Regions from separate parts of the Homo sapiens genome. Here region 2 is linked to region 1. The links are contacts of gene promoters, found by promoter capture Hi-C in blood cells and fetal thymus (Javierre and others, 2016). All regions are on one chromosome and are shown on one strand. Each heading gives the region's core, a stretch centred on a gene start or on the middle of the fragment in contact. The rest is flanking DNA. Distances are from core to core; before and after follow the strand shown.

Evidence for each region. The method cuts DNA at HindIII sites, captures the fragments that hold promoters and counts their contacts. A CHiCAGO score of 5 or more calls a contact.
Region 2: a contact is called between a fragment that was not itself captured here and the fragment with the promoter of LRRC53 in region 1, in 1 of 17 cell types (endothelial precursors). The highest score is 5.2, in endothelial precursors.

The regions. Positions count from the first base shown.
Region 1 is chr1:74,508,271-74,515,733 of GRCh38, forward strand. LRRC53 (leucine rich repeat containing 53) reads right to left here and starts at 4,341. Exons shown (of 5, transcript NM_001382280.1): 1 at 4,256-4,341. The region is part of intron 25 of FPGT-TNNI3K (FPGT-TNNI3K readthrough); the gene reads left to right. All of the region lies in intron 23 of TNNI3K (TNNI3 interacting kinase), which reads left to right. The HindIII fragment of the contact is 6,650 bases long and covers 1-5,845 here.
Region 2 is chr1:71,102,822-71,110,136 of GRCh38, forward strand. The region is part of intron 2 of ZRANB2-DT (ZRANB2 divergent transcript); the gene reads left to right. Among named protein-coding and RNA genes, the nearest start is that of ZRANB2-DT, 25 kb to the left of the region's middle. The HindIII fragment of the contact is 511 bases long and covers 5,361-5,871 here.

The DNA of each region.
Region 1 (7,463 bases), core at 3,091-5,590:
GTATAATAAAAATAGTAATAATAATAGCCATCATAAGTGTAACCATACTGAGTTCTTATTTTGTACCAGATAACAGGCTATGGTACTTTAAATGTGTTATCTCATTTAATCTTCATAAAAATAAAGAAGGTATTATGATTTTTTCAATTTCACAGATGAGAAAAAATAAAGTCCCCAAAATACAAGTGGCAAATGCCTGATGTAGGACTTAAACCTGGCCAGAGTAGTTCTAGAACTGGTGAATCTGGACACCAAACTCCACAAAAGACAGAGAGAAAAGGGTTAAAAAATAGCCCACAGGCCAGGAGGCAGACTGCATTCAGAGGATAAGTAGCGAATCAGTCTGCCAGAGCGGTAGCATGGGAGACTGCACACAAACTGAGAAAACCAACAGCAAGCTATAGGTCAGAGCCCAACCCGGGGCATATGTCTGGTAGAAGGGAGGCTCAGGAGGAAGGGTGCTTTGCTGATAACATAAGTGGGAGTTAGTGTGCTATACTGGGAAAGAGCTTGCATCTTGAAGCCAGAGGTATGTGTTCTAATCCCACCTCTGCCTTTAAGAACAGTGTAAACTTGGGCCTCAGTAACTAAAATAGGGACCATAATATTACCTTGTCTGGTTTTTACAGGGTCTGCAGAAAATTCATATAAAACACTTAATATCATCCCTGAGAAACTTATGTTGTTTTGTTTTAAACTAAAGATAAATGTCCCTATTTCACAGTTCTACCCACGGATGGATAAACCCCTTTCTGAGGGTGAGAAATGAAAGCCTGTGTCTATCTGAAATTCGGGATCCTTATTCAGACACTTTCTTCTTCTTTTTATCACTTATTCTCTTTGAGATAGTAGAGCACTCCTTTTTCCTCATTAAATAGCAGCTTTACCCATAAATTTCTCACAGCTTTTCCTTACTTATTTACACTACTTGATTGTCAAATTTGACAGTGTTGACCATTCCTCAGTCAAGTTGCCATTTGGAATAACTTAAAGGTTTCTGGATGTTTTCTACCCAGCAGCTATTTATGACAATGACAGAAATCAGGAAAATGACATTTGAGGGTTTCAATTTTTCTCTATAATCCCTGAAAATAAAGCGATAGTCAATTGTGAATGTGGCTGCTGAATGCTAGAGTACTACATAACAATAGAAAAGATTTAAGATGCTTGAGAACTAACAAATCTAAATTTATTGGTTTTACACAAATGAATGATTTTCATTTTATTTTAAAAATTGTCCTTTATTGTTTAGGGCAAGATAAATCGTATACTCTTTTCTTCAATAATATTTTATCAGATTAACATAGAGGACAATGAATTATGAAATTATGAAATAAATAAAATTGAGGACAAAGCACCAATATTAAAATGTTGATTGTTGTTTTTGTCATGTCATATATGTTAAGGAATAGAGTGTTGTGTTTGATTTTGAAAGGTACCTATGAACTGCTTTCTGGTTTTGAGTGATCTGAATTTCTTTTTTTTTTTTTTTTTTTTTTTTTTTTTTGAGACAGGGTCTCACTTTGTTACCCAGTACAGTTGTGCGATTATGGCTCACTGCAGCCTCAACTTCCCCAGGCTCAGGTGATTTTCCCTCCTCAGCTCCCCAAGTAGCTGGAACTACAGGCATACGCCACTGCACTTGGCTAATTTTTGTATTTTTTGTAGAGACAGGGTTTCACCAAGTCACCCAGGCTGGTCTTGAATTCCTGAATTCAAGCGATCTGCTTGCTTTCCAAGGTGTGAGCCTATGCGCCCAGCTTGAATTTCAATGTCACAGATTTTCTATTGCTTGTGTATTCTTTGGGTATTTTATTTCTTTTGTAAAAGGTAGACAGTTCTGAGTTTAAACATGACTTAGAGATGTTTAACTACATTTCTTACCCCCTGATTTTTACTTCCTGAGATCAGTAGTAGAGAGGGCAATCAGTTCTCACCTTTTAAAAAGATCTGAGGCCAGGTGCAGTGGCTCACGCCTGTAATCCCAGCACTTTCGGAGGCCGAGGCGGGCAGATCACGAGGTCAGGAGATCGAGACCATCCTGGCTAACATGGTGAAGCCCCGTCTCTACTAAAAATACAAAAAATATTAGCCGGGCATGGTGCCTGGCGCCTGTAGTCCCAGCTACTCAGGAGGCTGAGGCAGGAGAATGGCTTGAACCCGGGAGGTGGAGCTTGCAGAGAGCCGACATCGCGCCACTGCACTCTAGCCTGGGTGACAGAGTGAGACTCCGTCTCAAAAAAGAATAAAATGAGAAAAAAATTATTGAGAGATTGTCAAATCTCTTGAATTTTTAAAAAATTATTGCTCATTAAATTAAACAGCACCTTGTCTATAATTTGTTCAAAACTACCAACTACCAGATCTATGTGTTATACTTTGTTAAATAAACTTCCGTTTCTCTTTGGGAAAGACATATATAGGATCTTGAACAGTATATAAAGTTTAATTAAATATGGCTAGCATTGAAAAGTTCATGGAATTAATCAACTAGCTCACAAATGTGTGTTGATTTCCCTCTAGGTACACAGCACTGTGTCTGCCCCTACCCAGAGAGGCCCAGTATTTTGATAGCTAGTCTTGTATTCTTGTATAAAGAGTTTTAGCAAACTGAATATGCTTTTTTTCTTTTTTGAGACGAAGTCTCACTCTTGTCCCCCAGGCTGGAGTACAATGGTGCGATCTTGGCTCACTGCAACCTCTGCCTCCCAGGTTCAAGTGATTCTCCTGCCTCAGCCTCCCAAGTAGCTGGAATTACAGGCGTCTGCCACCATGCCCAGCTAATGTTTGTATCTTTAGTAGAAACAGAGTTTCACCATGTTGGCCAGGCTGGTCTGGAACTCCTGGTGATCACCTCAGGTGATCCATCCGCCTTGGCCTCCCAAAGTGCTGGGATTACAGGCGTGAGCTACCGTGCCCGGCCTATTTTTTTTTTTTCCGAGATGGAATTTCGCTCTTATTGCCCAGGCTGGAGTGCAATGGTGCGATCTCGGCTCACCACAACCTCTGCCTCCCGGGTTCAAGCAATTCTCGTGCCTCAGGCTCCCGAGTAGCTGGGACTACAGGCACACGTCACTACACCCTGCTAATTTTTGTATTTTTAGTAGAGATAGGGTTTTGCCATGTTGGCCTCGAACTCCTGGTCTCGAACTCCTGACCTCAAGTAATTCACTCTTATTTTCTTTATTTAAAGAATTAACAATATATTACTTACAGGTGGAAAACACAAATGTATGTGTCATTTTCCCTATTACGCTAGCCTCTTCACTGATCTAATTCCATTGGATATGCATTTATCTATCATTTATTAAGCAGCTCTTATATATTGAATCATGTAGTAAATATTGGACACCCAATGATGGATTAGAGATCTCTTCAGTCCTGGGGGAATTCACAGTTTAAGGGAGGAGGTCAGAGAAACACACAGGAAGATAAGTACTGAGCCATGTGTAGGAAGCCCTGTGAGCCTGAGAAGAGTCAAGGTAGGCTTCCCAAAAGCCATCCCGTTTCACTTGAGTTTGGCAGAGTTAACCAAGCAGAGAAAGGAAGAAAGAGTGTACTAGGAAAGGGAAGCAACAGGGACAAAGGCAGGAAAGTGGGAACCTGCACAGTACATTTGGGAACAGCAAAGGGTTGAGTGTGGGTAGAGCAGAAGCTATAGATGAGGATCTAAAGTCAATAGAAGTAGAAATAAAAGAACATGGAGTCAAGTAAGTTCAGTACCCAAGGAAAATCGGAAGGAAGAGGGCAGCTTTCCTTCATGCAGCTTCCCTTCCAGTCACTGAGACCTCAGACTCTTCTCTTCATTCAGGCAGTGAGCATGAAAAGATCTGGATGGGACTGGATATAGCAGCCACCAGTCTTTATTGAAATAGCCCTGGGGCATGACTCGAACCTGTGAGGGACCATAAAGGGGCATGATTTCTGCAGCTGTGTTTACTGTCAGTGATTGTACAGACTCAAACATGGAGCTAGGGATAATATGGTAATCTAGATGAGACATGAGTGACATAGACACAGTAGAGCTCCACCTTGAACCCAAGATTGGCCCCTAGAACTGTGCAAAACAGGCAACACTGCAGGGTGGCTCATGGCACTCAACTATTCCTGCACTGATGACATTCCTGTACTGATGACATCACCCACATGATCATCTGTTTATAAGTCTGTCTCTTTAAATGGTGAGGAAAGAGAAATAAAGGTGTAAAAATCCAGCCATCATAACAAAAACACCAAAAGAAAGAAATTAACTTACCCAAAGGTCTCACAGCTTGTAGTTTGTGAATCTCTACATTAAAAGGTGGATGATGAATCTGAGACCTACTGAGTTAACTGTCCAGCATCTCAGCCATATGCCTTATTCCTCTTTATATGCATCTCCACTCCCACACCACCCCCTCCTGGCTTCATCCTTTAGTGCCTGGAATAACGCCTGGCACATGGTAGTTACTCATCAGAAGTCCACTGAGTGAAAGAACAAACACCTACCACTGACGGGTTGCTATTTATACCATTCTGTCTTCACTGTTGGGAGCTTCATACTGTATTCTTCAAAATGGGCACCCCCTGCAGCATGCCTCACTCTACAAGGAAAACTTCTCTGTTAACAAGCCTTATGATGGGGTCACTATGTGATCACCTAAAGCTGGCCTTTTCTGTCCCTCATCCGGGTAAATGGCTCACCGTGGAAAACTATAGACGACTTTTGCCCTTTCACTAACATTCCTCTTGATAAGACACTTAAAGAGGAAAATAGTCTTGACTCTTTAAAGTTGATGCCAGTTTGGGGCTGTTAACAAAGTCAAGGGATTCTGTTGTTAGAATCAACCTAGCACACAGCTTGCTCAGTCGATACTGTTTCACTGGCCTGAGATTACAGCAGAGGTAGGTGCCTAAGATGAGGAAATGGTTGTGGAGAAAGAGTCCGAATGACCCAGAGGTCCACGTGTGCTTTCCTAGTTCGTTTATTCAGCTGATATTTATTGAGAAATTATACCGGGATGTGGAAATTTACTGAGTCCCTGTCCTTTCATTATTTTAATCCAGTGCACTAGGTGTTCTTATCAGAGTGAGTCCATGAAATGTTGGGGATGCAGGGGCACTGGTAGTAGGAGTTGAGAACCTGATGATGACTGTCTTTGCAATGTTCCCTCAGAAGAAAAGGTTTGTGCAGAAGGCACATCCCACTTCAGACTCCTGCACATCTGCAGAGAACTTTGCATTCTCACTGCAAGAGGAGTTCCTCTTCCTTTCATTTTTCTTCTCTTTGTCTTCCTTTTTTTCTCTATGCCAAACCTAAGCAAATCTGCTTCATCCAGAGGCAGCTGGCGCTACTATGTGGGAGTGTTAAATGTTTAACATCTTGTCACTTGCGTAACTGATGGAGTCATCCTTTTTGTTTCAGAGTTTCATGTTTAGGGGTTGAAAAGCTAGATTGATGAGCATTACCAGAGAGAAATATTTTTTGGAAAGTAAGTGAAGCTGATGACACATTACTTTACAGTTTAGTGAATTTCAGCAAATCTAATTCTATTATCCTGTCAAAGTTTCACAAAAAGGAGACCTGAAAGCATATTTTAGATGAATCTTTAAAGATTTCAAGAAGCCACAACCGCATCTGCAAAGCTCAGATGCATCTGGTGCTGACAGACCTTTGTTTTTCTATAGACTAAGGGGAGTAAATAATCTTCCAAAAACTAATTAAGTAAAGTTATCTTTGGTTGTACAGTGCCTGCCTCTCTCTCCCTTGAAAAGGTTGTCAGCCAGTAAACGATAACTGCGTTTTTCAATTCAAAGGCTATTCGAAGTTTGCATAGCCAAATTTACCCAGGCACACCAAAATAGAAGCTTCCTTTATGAATCATAGAGTCTTGTAATGCAGATTTTATAGAGCATTTAAAGCCAGATCATTTATGTCCTTGTTTATTTTCACAATCAAGTATAAGATACGGTCTAATAAATACATTCTGACCAAAATGCTAGGAGCAATTGTTTTAAAGCGTTTTCACACAATTCTATGTATTTGTCAGAGGCTTACAAGCTGACAAGCTGAAAGCGCTTTGTGATGCTTTTGGCAATTTGTGTGATTGTGTATACACTTGCACAGAAGTTCCTTATCGAGAGGAAGCATTTAAGTAAAAAGGGGAGCATTAATGAAAAGGTCCATTTTAATAGAAATTGCTGTTGTTCTCTACTATCTAACAATTATTCACTTAAGAAGAAAAGTCTTGATAGAATTTATTGAGAACCTACTATGTACTAGTACACATATTATTAATATAATATCCCCAATTATTTGCTAGGTAGATATTATCTCCATTTTGAAGATGGGAAAACTGGTCAAAACAGGAAACATCTTCTGAGATAGTAAGGGGGGAAGCTGGGATTGACTCCAGTCTATCTAATCCCAAAGCCATGTGTGCTCTTTTTAGGACACCATAAGAAATTCTGTTTGGAACTCATGATAAAAAACAAGATCAAGACTGTGGTAAAAATGTGAAGGGGTATTGTGGGTTGAATTGTATCCCCCAAAAAGATATGTTGAAGTCTCAGACCCTGGTACCTCAAAATGTGACCCTATTTGGAAACAGGGTTGTTGCAGATGTGAGAAGTTCATAGGAGTTTATACTGGAGTAGGGTGGGCCCTTAATTCAAGATGACTTGTGTCTTTATAAGAAGAGCACAAAGACACGCAGAAGAATGGCATGTGAAGATGATGGAGGCAGGGACTGAAGTGCTCTACCTAGAAGCCAAGGAATATAAGGATCGTAGCCCTCACCAGAAACTAGGACATGGGCACAGAATTTTCCTCAGAATATTCCTTCAGAAAGAACCAACCTTGCCAACACCTTGACTCTGGACTTTTAACCTGCATAACAGTGAAAGAATACATTTCTGTTGTTTGAAGCCTTCAGGTGTTTGGAACTTTCTTATGGCAGCCCTAGGAAATGAATACAGAGGATGACATAACTTCATAGAGCTTAGGAAGAAAACAAACTCCAGACTGAATGTTAGGTCAGTGCCCTTCCTGAGGGTCATAGTCATGTTATTTTTCCTTCATCATTTGGGACTATGCGGAAAACCCACACCTAACCCAGTATGAGACTTGAAAGACATTTTTTGGTGCTTTGTCAGAAAATAAATATATGGTTAACCAAAGTTAAGGTGAAATTCTAACGTTTTATCATGCCAATACATATAGAAATGATACTAGGAAAGGGTGTGCTATTTGACTGAAGTTTCTCTGATGGTTGCTGTTGGCAACCAGTTTTACAAGAGGCACAAGTCTAATTAGGGCAGAAGTCAGGAAGAGATTGCAAGTAATTGAGGTCAGACATAACTCAGGGTGGGCAGGTGGCTGACATCCGATGTAGTCAAACTAAGGGGATCATGGTTTGAGGTGGGCAGACACAACAGGTGAGGGATGGAGACTGAACACTGATGGAAATAACTAAAAGCTGAAT
Region 2 (7,315 bases), core at 4,366-6,865, 3.4 Mb before region 1:
TAGTTGAGCTCTGAAAAATGGTTGGGATTTTGATATGAAGAGACAGAAGATGACTTCTAGTTAGAAACAGCAAAAGCAAAAGAACAGGGTTAAAAAATAATACAACCTTGTTTGAGATGCATGAATAAAGCAACATAGTTGGAATAAAATATTTAGGGAGGCAACTTGAGGGTGAGGTTGGAGTAACACATTGGGAAATAATCATGGTCAACCTTAAAGGCCAAACTAAGAACTTACATAATTTTTTAAAGTGCAGAAAAGTGCATAAAAGATAAGTGTCCATTTCATAGATTATTACAAAGTTAATGCTCCTATGAAATCACTACCCAGATCACAAAATAAAACATTTCCAACATATCAGAAAGCCCATTCAGCCCTTTCAAAGAACATACCTTTTTTTCTCTCTCAAGGAAACTCCACTGACCTCTAACACCGTAGACCAGGAGTGACTATTTTTTAATTCTATATACCTGTCATTACATAAAATATATTATTTTATGTCTAACTTCTTTCACCTAACAATGTTGATGAGACTCATACATGCTGTTGAATGTATCTGTGGCTCACTTATTTTCATTGTTTGATGATATTCTAGTATATAAATATACCACAATTTATCCAAGTGACTGTTATTTTGTAGAATTTAAAGATTATAATAAGGGTGATCAAATATACTTGAGCTTAAGTAACTGCCAAGAATGGTAGAGTCTTAACCAACTAAAGGAGGCTTAGAAGAAAATTCTGGTTTGGAGTATATGGTTTTCAATTCTAAAATTATATCGCTTACCTTATTAAACTATTTTACCAATCCTTTAGTTTGAATTTGTGACAATCTTTTTCTTCAACTCTCATTTTTCATCATTGCTATGGAAGGTCATTCTCGGAAGACATTGCAGCTGTCAGGGAAGAAAAAACCGGGACTATGGAGGGATAGTTAAATTGCCTCCCTCTCAGTGAGCTCGGTATCCAGAGCTTTTCTATTATTCAAACCTGACGGCTTTGGTGTAAGGAGTGATAGTAGCTAGGAGAATGACAGGTCTGGGACTTCTGGGAAGCCTAAGTCCACATAGCTTTTAAAGTGGTAGCTATTCCATGTGCTCAACTTATCACTAATTCTTTCCTTATTTCTAGACATTTTTTTTTCTATCACTGACATAAGCAATGGCTTTTTCCATTTTTGCAGCCTATTATTTATTTAACTGGATATTAACAGGTATCTAGCAGACATGTAGATACCCCAGGAACAGCATGCCACTACCTTCACCTGTGTTGGTGTTGTGATAGTAATTCCAATTGATTAATTTTTTTATCAATTGATTAATTTTTGAGACAGTTTGCTTGGATAACAGTTCAGACATTGCTAGGCTTGACTGTATGAATTCCTATGGAATGGATCTCTTAGGCTCTGTGTGCATTTTAGCACAGCCTTTTTAATAGAAGCTTTTATTTAATATCTGTGGTAATATTTTACTTACCATTGTATCCGGAAACATAGGAAAGACTGTTCATTAAACTTGTTTATATTGCTTCTTCCAATCAGGTTTCTTTGACAAATGTTTTGCCTTAAATTTGTGCTTTCCAGGATTATTACTATGCCTTGATAGCTTACGGGATGGCACTAACAAGAAACAGAAGAGATAGTATCTTATATTTCTAGACCACTTTAGAATTTACAAAGCATTTCTACATCTATTATTTCCCATTACTGTCTCCACCACCCTGTAAAAGAGGTGTTTTTGCTTTCATTTTAAAGATCAAGAAATGTGGGCTCAAAGACATATGTAGTATCACAGTCACTGGTTTGTGTAAGATCAAATCTGATCTTCTAATCCTAGGTTCAGCGCTATTAGCTAGTGCCTCCATCCTGCTTATCTGTATCTGGTGTAGATTTTCCTGTTATCCCTTTGGTATCTGGTGTAGAATTTCCTGTTATCCCTCAAATGTTAATTAGGAGCTATATTCTTGCCACGTAAGAATTATATGTCTATCGAGTTCATATACCTTAGCATTAGACAACAACTGAAATTCTCAAAATTATCAGGTTAATGTATCACCTAGAACTAGTCAATTTTCTGGAATTAATTTTATGTCATAAGGCTTACTTTTTATCTTTTCATGTGCTTTAATAATACTTGAACCAATATTACCTCCTATGTGAACAGAGTTCAGGTGAATAGCCAGTGAGCTTCTATTACAGATCTATTTTAGAATTGACTTCTTTGTGGCACCAATAAAATCTTCAACTACAGCATGATTATGTTGTCAAAAAGTTGATTTTCATCATAGTCTGAATATTGATTCATTGAATATGTAACTTTTTTCTTGAGAGAAATAAAATTATTTCCCTGGATACGTTACATAGATCATCAGTATGTATGAAGTTTTGAAGAGGTTGGTCATTGGTAAATATACTAAAGAAAATAATCCGAAACAAACCATACAGATAAAAGACAATTCTTACATTAGTTTAACATTAAATGTCCCTTAGTACATAGATGAAAGACTAAAATGCAGGACAATATAAGCATAATATGTGTTGATTTATGAGCAGCATGCAGCTCAATAATCCATTGGTGTCTACTGACTAAGATCAGTGTAAGGGCAAACACGGCTCTCTTTTGAGTGCTGTTCTAGGCTCTTCTGGTGAAAAGATATTTTTAGGCAACACTGTGCAATTCAGAGAACGTGAAAGGTAATGAGGTATTCCTCTCAGCGCAATGTACCATGTCCATTCTATCATTGAAAGAGTAATGACATGAATCAGAAAAGCCAAACACATATACATTTAAATCCCTGAAAAATGATGTGACTATGAAGTTACTGAATTACTTGGATGTTTTGTCAAAGTTTACTTCCTGGCTAAATAGTGGGCCTCTCCATATTCAACCATGTCACATACTTATTTAAATATGTCACATATTTAATTAAACTTTCTTGCTTAAATGGGAGTTGGAGAATGATCTGGCCAACATGAACCAAGTTGAGAAGGGGTTATTAATTAGGTTCCAGGATGGTGAAGAGTATGCAGTTCTTACCCAGGACCATGGGAATGCAGTGAGCCAAAGGGATTGGCAAATCTGTCAGAAGAAAGAAAGAAGAAATCTGTCAGAGGAAAGAAAGAACATTAGATTTTCTGGGCCAAAAATTAAGCCAAAAAACTTTTAGCAAAGAAATAAGATATGAAAAGAGCAAAAGCCTTTCGGGAGTGAATAGGTGGTTCTTTGACAATGTCCTAATTTGACAATGGTAGAGGATCAGATAACTGAGGTTTTTCTTTAGGGAACAGTGGGCATATGAGTGAAAGGAGTTGGTTGGCTAGAAGGGCCAAGAGCTGAGCAGATTACGATTCATTATTCTTTCCTACGATAAACATTACCTAGTATTCTATCATTAGACACAATTAAAATGTGTAAAAGCAAAAAAGTCACCATCATAATCAATTATTTAGTTTTTCTAAAGGATTTCAAACAATGTTTGATTGATTTTTAAATGCTGAATTGGATGATTTTGGGATTCAATTAGTAATACAGAGGAACAGACTCTCAATGGGAGACAAATTTCAAGGTTATCCAATGGCACTTGAGGCAGGAATTCTTTCTATATTGTTCAAGTTGAGCGAAAGTCTGGTATTAAGTTCTGTGTTGACAGTACACATGCTGCTTTATGAGGCACTCCATTTCATTGTGTATAGCCTTATGTCTGTAATTTTTATTTTTGGCTTCCTAGAAAACATTCCTAATTTCTACCAGCATTTTGGTTTATGTTTGTAGAAAAATGTCTTCTTAATCTGATACAGTCTAGTGAAACTATTAATGATGGCCCTTACCTCACCCTAAACAAAGGTACCAACCTGACCCCGGGTAGTCCTGTAGTCAGTCCTTTTCTCAAATTTGAATCTTGAACACGGTGAAACAAACGTTCAGCATTGTTTCATTTCCAGCAGTGGTTGGTGCCCTGACCAGACTATTTTCCCCCTGAGCCTCTGACCGTCTTTCCTGTTTTCTCATTCTCTGAATGAATCTGCCCTAGTTTTTGTTGTTTCCAAACTGATTCTCCAGCTTCCTGTCAATACTGTGCATGCCAGTCAACTGGGGAGACTGTTAGAAATGAAGATTCTTAGACCTCATGTTGCTTAAAGTATTTAGCAGTAGTAGTATGAGGTGGGGTACAGGAAGTTAAATTTACAACACACTCCGAGTAACACTGATGCAGTCAAAAATATGAGCTGACTTTTGGGAACACTGTACAATGTACATTTGTACTTTAATAGAACATTTCTGAAAGTGGAAAAGTCTTCCTGACTGACTCACTAACTGGATAAATTCCAGTTCTTTCATTCATTCAATAATTCAACAAACAGACATTGAGCATCTACCCTGTGACAGGCATCAACGATGAGCCTTGGAGTAAATAATATCATTAAGATTATTTGAGGCTGGGCGTACCAGCTTGCTTTTGGCGGGGCACTGAGTCATTCAAAAGAGCAAGGAATACATATCTAGATATCGATGTCTTATATTCAGTAAATATCACTAATAATCTTTAAAAGAAATGGACAAGCATTTATCTCTATATTTCCATATCCCTCATATTCCTCAAAAGTGTCATAATAAAGAGATTTCTAATTACACTCTAGGCATGTTCCTTTGTGTATGTAAAAATAGTTCTAGGCAATACCAGAAATCTCAGTTCTAATTAATTAGTCTTAGGCATGATAATAAAATTCAGCCATACCAATTTTCTGCCAGGTTTAATGAAACAAGGTTTTCTTCTTTCATTTTGCTACTCAATTGCCTCACAATTACATGTACAATGTACAATAAAAATAACTGTATAGGTGAACAGGATATGAAAATGTTCAGAAATTCTTCCTTTCAACTAACAAAAATAACTTTTTATTTTTTTTTTTGAGACGGGCTCTCGCTCTGTCGCCCAGGCTGGAGTGCAGTGGCGCGATCTCGGCTCACTGCAAGCTCCGCCTCCCAGGTTCACACCATTCTCCTGCCTCAGCCTCCCAAGTAGCTGGGGCTACAGGCGCCCGCCACCACACCTGGCTAATTTTTTGTATTTTTAGTTGAGATGAGGTTTCACCGTGTTAGCCAGGATGGTCTCGATCTCCTGACTTCGTGATCTGCCTGCCTTGGCCTGTAAATGCTGGGATTACAGGCGTGAGCCACTGCTCCTGGCCTCAACTAACAAAAATAACTCTGAAGTAAAATACTGTTAAATAAGGTTCAAATTTTATGTTGTTTCGTTGATTATTTTAAGATTATAAATCAGTGATCTTAAGTACATCTTAAAAACTTATATCCCTCTAAAATTGACTCTAAGTAAATTGACCTCTAAAATTTCTCAATTTAAGCTTAGATCATTGTAAAATATATAGTTTACTGTAAATTGTAAATATTGACATAAAAGTTGTATCTTCTTGAGATATAGCCATTTCGATTCTCATGAAAAATCGATATTAAAGTACTTAAACTAATTCATCTGTAACAGTCACAAGTTACCCTGAACTTCTATTTCTATACCACTTTTTCAATAGGATTTAGCCTAGTTTAATGCATTCTTTCTGCCTCAAAGTCTTTTAGTAATTACCCTTTTCCTACCACAACAATATGGATGTACATTGAAAAAGTAATTAAAAATTTGGTGATGTAGACTCCAGGTGTTAAGAATTCTTCTGAATTCAATTTTCATTATTCATATTAATATATAATTAACCTAAACATCATGAATAATTTTTAGATAATATACATAAAAACTAAAATATATTAGAATTATATTCATTATTCTCATGATTGAGCAATTTCTTGTTTAATAAATGTATGTATCTGTGGCTGAATATTACTTATTGCTAGAATGAGTCAAAGCTTAGCATCAATCTATTCTATTTGATTGAGTTTCTTAATCCTGAGTTCTAGTTTGATTGCACTGTGGTCTGAGAGACAGTTTGTTATAATTTCTGTTCTTTTACATTTGCTGAGGAGAGCTTTACTTCCAACTATGTGGTCAATTTTGGAATAGGTGTGGTGTGGTGCTGAAAAAAATGTATATTCTGTTGATTTGGGGTGGAGAGTTCTGTAGATGTCTATTAGGTCCACTTGGTGCAGAGGTGAGTTCAATTCCTGGGTATCCTTGTTAACTTTCTGTCTTGTTGATCTGTCTAATGTTGACAGTGGGGTGTTAAAGTCTCCCATTATTATTGTCTGGGAGTCTAAGAAACTCACTCAAAACCACTCAACTACATGGAAACTGAACAACCTGCTCCTGAATGACTACTGGGTACATAACGAAATGAAGGCAGAAATAAAGATGTTCTTTGAAACCAATGAGAACAAAGACACAACATACCAGAATCTCTGGGACACATTCAAAGCAGTGTGTAGAGGGAAATTTATAGCACTAAATGCCCACAGGAGAAAGCAGGAAAGATCCAAAATTGACACCCGAACATCACAATTAAAAGAACTAGAAAAGCAAGAGCAAACACATTCAAAAGCTAGCAGAAGGCAAGAAATAACTAAAATCAGAGCAGAACTGAAGGAAATAGAGACCAAAAAAACCCTTCAAAAAATTAATGAATCCAGGAGCTGGTTTTTTGAAAGGATCAACAAAATTGATAGACTGCTAGCAAGACTAATAAAGAAGAAAATGGAGAAGAATCAAATAGATGCAATAAAAAATGATAAAGGGGATATCACCACCGATCCCACACGAATACAAACTACCATCAGAGAATACTACAAACACCTCTATGCAAATAAACTAGAAAATCTAGAAGAAATGGATAAATTCCTCGACACATACACTCTCCCAAGACTAAACCAGGAAGAAGTTGAATCTCTGAATAGACCAATAACAGGATCTGAAATTGTGGCAATAATCAATAGCTTACCAACCAAAAAGAGCCCAGGACCAGATGGATTCACAGCCGAATTCTACCAGAGGTACAAGGAGGAACTGGTACCATTCCTTCTGAAACTATTCCAATCAATAGAAAAAGAGGGAATCATCCCTAACTCATTTTATGAGGCCAGCATCATCCTGATACCAAAGCCGGGCAGAGACACAACAAAAAAAGAGAATTTAGACCAATATCCTTGATGAACATTGATGCAAAAATCCTCAATAAAGTACTGGCAAACCGAATCCAGCAGCACATCAAAAAGCTTATCCACCATGATCAAGTGGGCTTCATCCCTGGGATGCAAGGCTGGTTCAATATACGCAAATCAATAAATGTAATCCAGCATATAAACAGAACCAAAGACAAAAACCACATGGTTATCTCAATAGATGTAGAAAAGGCCTT